Linked DNA regions of Homo sapiens: region 1 is linked to region 2. The links are contacts of gene promoters, found by promoter capture Hi-C in blood cells and fetal thymus (Javierre and others, 2016). All regions are on one chromosome and are shown on one strand. Each heading gives the region's core, a stretch centred on a gene start or on the middle of the fragment in contact. The rest is flanking DNA. Distances are from core to core; before and after follow the strand shown.

Region 1 (2,913 bases), core at 48-2,547, 70 kb before region 2:
CTTGTCTTACTCTCTGCTATGATTTAATATGTACATTATCAAATTGAGAAAAAGACAAAAAAATTAAAAATAATAAAATAAAAATAAAAAATTATCAGTAATACTAATAATCACTTCGATCCATTGAGTGTTTATGTTTGCAAAGCCTTTATTTTTATTTATTTTTATTTTTTTGAGACAGAGTCTCACTCTGTCACCCAGGCTGGAGTGCAGTGGCGTGATCTCGGCTCACTGCAACCTCTGCCTCCCGGGTTCAAATGATTCTCCTGCCTCAGCCTCCTGAGTAGCTGGGATTTCAGGCACCCACCACCACGCACGGCTAATTTTTGTATATTTAGTAGAGATGGGGTTTTCGCCATATTGACCAAGCTGGTCTCGAACTCTTGACCTTGTGATCTGCCCACCTCGGCCTCCCAAAGTTCTGGGATTAGAGGTGTGAGCCACCGTGCCCGGACTTTTTTTTTTTTTTTTTTTTTTTTGAGACAGGGTCTCACTCTGTCACCCAGAATGGAGTGCAGTGGTGTGATCTAAGCTCACCGCAACCTCTGCCTCCCAGGCTCAAGCGATTCTCCTGCCTCAGCCTCCCAGATAGCTGGGATTACAGGCACACACCACCACGCCTGGCTCATTTTTCTATTTTTAGTAGAGACGGGGCTTCACCATGTTGGCCATGCTGGTCTCAAACTCCTGACCTCAAGTGATCCACCTGCCTCGGCCTCCCAAAGTGCTGGGATTACAGGCGTGAGCCACGGCACCCAGGCTACTTTTTTCTTTTTTCTTTTCTTTTCTTTTTTTTTTTTTTTTTCAGAGACAGGGTCTCACTCTATTGCCCAGGCTGTCCTCCAACCCCTGTCCTCAAGCAATCCTCCCGCCTCAGCCTCCCAAAACACTGGGATTATAGGCATGAGCCACTGTGCCCCTTTACTTTTATTGTCACTAATCCTCACCACTACCCTATAAAACAAGAATCATTATCGTCATTACACAGAGAAGAGAAACGGGCTCACAGAAGTCAAGTGATCTGTCTAAGCTCAAGCAAGCTGATATGGGGTGGAGTTGGGACCACAACCCACATCTGCCTGCTTTCTGTGCCCTCTGTGCTTGATCTCATGTCATGGGCCATCCATTTTGCCAAAGCTTTCGAAACATGCCTTCTCCCCTCCTTTTAGGCCTTTTCTGGAAGTCAGGCTGGCTTGCAGCTCTCACCCCAAGCTCTTTTCCCCAGCTGGGGCTGAAGGCTGGGGAGGAGCTTCATGGGGGCTGGAAATAAATGAAGGGAGGGCTGGGCGGGACAGGGCAGTATTTCCAGGAGGCTGTGAGGGGGAGGTAAGGAGTTTGTTATTGTTTTGGGTTTGGGGATTTTTTTTTCTTTGCTCCTGGAGAGCAGGTTAGGTAGCTCTTGGCAGAGTTTTGCTAGGGATACGAAGTGGGTGAGGCTGAGGCAAGCAGAATCCTCCTGCCTCAGCCTCCCACGTAGCTAGGACTAGAGCTTCTGCAGTGCTAAGTGGGAAAGGGGCTTTCTGCCTCTGTGGGGCCTGGTCTGGAAAGTCCCCCAAATTGTTAAAAGCAAAGAGTGATTGTCCCCAGCTGGCAAGGGGACTTTTGTTTTATGTCCACCCCTTGTGCCCCTTGCTCTGCGAAGCCCTACCTGTGCCGGGAGCTTCGAATAGGAAGAGGACCTCAGGGCCAGGCATCCAGGGACTGAGGGGCTACAGCAGAAACAGACCCAGAGGCACCCTTGGCTAGGAAGAGCAGGATGAAGGTGTAATAATTTTGGGAGTGGTCTAAGAAGACTTTCCTTTTAAAGAGTGGAAAGCAATGAAACTGAGGCTTCAAGGCTGCAAAAATTTCGTCCTGGATCAGAGAAGGGCACTACAGGTGGAGGGAACTATCTGTGCAAAGGGTTGGGCCCTTCAAGAGTTGGAGCACAGAGGTTTAGGAGAAAAAGTGGTGACAGATGAGCCCAGGGCTATCTGCTTAGACCTGTGATCTAATATGGGTGCCAACAGCCACATGGCAATGTGGCTATTTAAATTTAAATTAGTTAAAATTCAATAAAGTAAAAAATACAGCTCCTGTGCCAGGTGCAGTGGCTCACGCCTGTAATCCCCGCACTTTGGGAGGCCAAGACAGGGAGATCACCTGAGGTCAGGAGTTCAAGACCAGCCTAGCCAACATGGTGAAACCCAGTCTCTACTAAAAATCCAAACAAAACGAAACTAAACTAAAAATTAGCTGGGCGTGGTGGCAGGTGCCTGTAATCCCAGCTACGGGGGAGGCTGAGGCAGGATAATTGCTTGAACCCAGGAGGCGGAGGTTGTAGTGAGCAAGATCGCCCCATTGCACTCCAGCCTGGGTGACAAGAGCGAAACTCAAAAAAAAAAAAAATTCAGCTCCTGAATCACACTAGTTATGTTTCAAATACTCAATAGCCACATGGGGCTAGTAGCAATGGTATTGGAGAGTATGTACAAGGCATGCCTCTATCATCACAGAATGTTCTTTTGGCCACTGTGAAGCCTCAGGAAGGGGCTCGGATTGCTCAAGGACCCATGGGAGAGAGGAGGCTTTGACTGGGCTGCCTGCCTGTGAGGTCTCTGGACTAGAGGTGAGGGAACGGTCCCCAGAAGTGTGAGGTGGTGTGACTCACCTCCTGCCAGCGTAAAGTGGACTCTGTCCCCATGGACAGGAACAAATCGGGCAAGGCTTCTTCAGCCCTGAGTTGGGTTATCTGCTCAGTGTGACCAGAGCCAGGGGATGAGAAACATGGAGTGAGTGGGACTGGGGCAGGAGCAGCAGCTGCTGAGTGAGGCTGAGCCTGAGCACCCGGTGGGGAGAGGGGTGGGGTCTCCAGCTTGGTCTTGGTTGGCATGCATGGGGCCGGACAGGAGAAGGGCTGGGGGAGGTATGTGT
Region 2 (2,943 bases), core at 367-2,866:
CCATGAATGTACAGAGCTGGGAAATGGCGGTTCAGGCAGAGGGGAATGCATGTGCAAAGGCCTTGAGGCTGGAGAGAGGTCAGAAGGAACTGAAGGGAGACCAGAGTGAGTGGAACATGGAAAATGATGGGGAAAGCCCCAGAGGAGGTAGGCAGTGGCCAGACTGTGGAAGGCCCTGCAGGCCTTGGAACGGACTTGGATTTCATACTAAGAGTGTCATGAGCAAAAAAGGCTAACTGAGGGAATCTTTCTAAGCTTGGCTTGCTGCTGTATTACAAAAAGATGAGGGGACAGGATGGAGGTAGACCAGCTAGGAGGCTGTCATAGTTTGCCTAGGAGAGAAATCACAATTACTAAAATGAAGGTGGTTACAACACAGACGGGAGAAGGTGCTAGAGTTGAGAATCGTTTTGGAGGTGGAGATGACAAGTGGTTTTGCTGATGGAATTAGACCTGTGGGTGAAGAAACAGAAAGATGAGATTTCTGGCGTGAGGAACTGAGAGATGGGAAAGACTGGAGACTGGGGAGGACGACAGGTTTGGGCAGGAAGATCAAAGTCTGGTTTGGGACATGAATTTGAAATGCTTGTTAAGTTTTCTGGGTGTAGATGACAGGTAGGGGCTAGATCTACGGGATGTGGAGTTCGAGGCTGGGCTGGAAGGGGCACGGAGAGGGTGCAGCACACTGACTGGACTCAGCCAAGGACACAGCCAAAGGAGACAGACCTGGGGAAGGGGCCAGGGGGCCACTAATGGCTGAGGAACCTTTAAAGGCCGCTGAAAAGCAGCAGCCAAAGAGGGAGAAAGGAAAACTAGGAGCGTGCAGTCAGACAGCCAAGAGGAAGGGTGTGTGGGGCAGCGGTGTCGAAAGATACAGGGTGCCCAACCGAGATCAAGACCGAAAGGCACTGCTGGGTTTGGCTCCCTGGAACTCACCAGGCACCTTGATTAGAGTGGGACATCGCAGGGAACCAGAGTGGAGGGAGCCCAGAAGTTTGGTGCTGAAGGGGTAAACGGGGAGGTAGTTGAAGATGGGTGTGGTGGTTGAGGATTTTTGCTATTGTTTTTTCTTTTGCTTTTGTTTTTTAAGGATATAAGAAAACAGCGCAGGGAGACAGGCTGAGCCGCTCCCAGGGCCCTTTCTAAGCGCCCCTGCCCCTCCTCTGACCTTGACAGCTCTCTCCACGTAGATTTTGGCGTTTCTGAGCCGGTTCATGTGAGACGCCTTGGAGGATCCTCGCCAGAGGACCGGGAAACCTGCAGAAAGATGCGGAATAGGGGCGGGGTACACTGAGGCTGGGCCTAGGGTCTCGGCCTAGGATCTTTTCTGGCCGCCCATAGCCACGCCTCTTTTCTTCCTCCTGCCTTCATCCAGATGCCCACCCTCAGCCGCTCTTCTCCCGACCCCCAGTCCCTCCACCCCAGCGTCTTGTCGTCCTCGCAGCCGCTGTAGGCCAGAGCGAGCGGGCCGCACGGGCCTCACCATCCTGCGGAGAGGGGTCGAGGACCGGGGTGTGCGGGGGGCCGAGGGGGTGGGTATCCGAGGCGCCCTGGGCGTGGGTGCCTGGGACCAGCGTCTTGAAGGCGCCGCTGAGGCGGCGCGCAGGGGCGGGGCTGCCCGCCTGGCATCTGCCGCCTGCGTGACCCTCCTCGGACTGGGCGGAGGCAGGGCCGGCCCATGGCAGCCTCCTGGGTGGACGGAACTCGGAGCGGCGCGCCGAGGGGAAACTGGTGCGTGGCTCGAGCGGCTGCGGCTTCCGCAGCCAGTTGCACACCGCGCCGCCCTCCTGGCGGTACCAGGAGGCCGAGCCCCGGCGCCCGGGCCCCAGCTCCCTCGCGCTCAGGAGCAGTGGCGCGTCGGGGCCCTGCATGCGCCCCTCGCCGCGCTCGCCCTCCCAGGGCCCCTGATCCCGCGCCCCTCCGCGTCGCCGCCTCCTCTCCCGGGAAGTTCCTGCCTAGGCTCGAGCCTTGTCCTCCGTTCCAAGCCCCGCCCCGTTTGCTATTGCCTTGGAAACCATTCCCTGGGCACCATCAGACCGCTCGGGGCTGGTTGGGGGCTGCGATGGGCCCCGGGGCAGTCGAGCGAGGGCTTCCTTATGACCTGGGGCCTCACCCAGACCCTTGATGAGCAGGGCACTGAAGGCGGAAGAGAGCACTGAGCCCCAGTTAGTTAGTGTTGCGGTTCCTTATCCAGTACTTCCTGGTGCCACCGGCCCTAGGGTTTGAGTGATTCCACAGTATTTATAGGCGCTAACAAATGGCCCCTGACCTCATGGAGCTTACTAAAAGCCCAGTGTGAGGGGAATAAAAAGCAAGTAACAAAGGAAGAGAATAGTTTACAGGTATAATAAGGGCAATGAACAAGCAGAGGTGAAACCAGGAAGGGGGCGCATTTTAGATAAAGTGGCGCATTTAAGCTGAAGGTGTAAATGCCAGGAGTCAGGAGTCACCAGGGAAAGGGGAGGAACTGCACTTCAGGGAAGGGACAGTCCCAGCAACAGCCCTGAGAAGGGTAAGAACCTCTGTGCGAACTACAAGACAGCCAGGGTGGCTGGAGCCTGGTGAGGCCAGATCAGACCTGCTGGGCCTGGCAGATGGGCCTAGGGTAAGGTCCTTAGCGAGGGCAGCATATGGGGGTAACAAGAAGGTGCAGAGCACACCCTCCCCAGAAACTGGAAATGGAAAAACAATCATTTGAGTCAACTGCGAAAGAAATGTAATAGTTCACAACAGTTATGCCTGGCCCCCAGGCTAAGACTGTAAGCAACCTTTTTGGAAGCACTGGCAAAATATTATCCTCAAAAGTCACAGGGGAGGTAAGGCTCCAAGATGTTAAACAATTTGCCTCAAATCACAGAGCAGAGGCAGCACTGGAACCCAGGTCTGACTCCAAAGCCTGTCTCTTAAACACCTGTTATCACTCAGGTTGCCTGCCAGTCACAG

Evidence for each region. Contacts are between HindIII fragments. The CHiCAGO score rates a contact against its expected background, and 5 or more counts as called.
Region 1: a contact is called between the fragment with the promoter of CIDEC here and the fragment with the promoter of TTLL3 in region 2, in 9 of 17 cell types (erythroblasts, naive B cells, naive CD4 T cells and 6 more). The highest score is 9.3, in erythroblasts.

What each region holds. Positions count from the first base shown.
Region 1 is chr3:9,878,637-9,881,549 of GRCh38, reverse strand. It overlaps CIDEC (cell death inducing DFFA like effector c), which reads left to right and starts at 1,297. Exons shown (of 7, transcript NM_001321142.2): 1 at 1,297-1,326; 2 at 2,496-2,608. The HindIII fragment of the contact is 5,760 bases long and covers 1,140-2,913 here.
Region 2 is chr3:9,808,935-9,811,877 of GRCh38, reverse strand. TTLL3 (tubulin tyrosine ligase like 3) reads right to left here and starts at 1,616. Exons shown (of 14, transcript NM_001387446.1): 1 at 1,484-1,616; 2 at 1,169-1,257. The coding sequence starts at 1,216. All of the region lies in intron 4 of ARPC4-TTLL3 (ARPC4-TTLL3 readthrough), which reads right to left. RefSeq lists a silencer at 1,435-1,914 and an enhancer at 2,395-2,544. The HindIII fragment of the contact is 3,571 bases long and covers 258-2,943 here.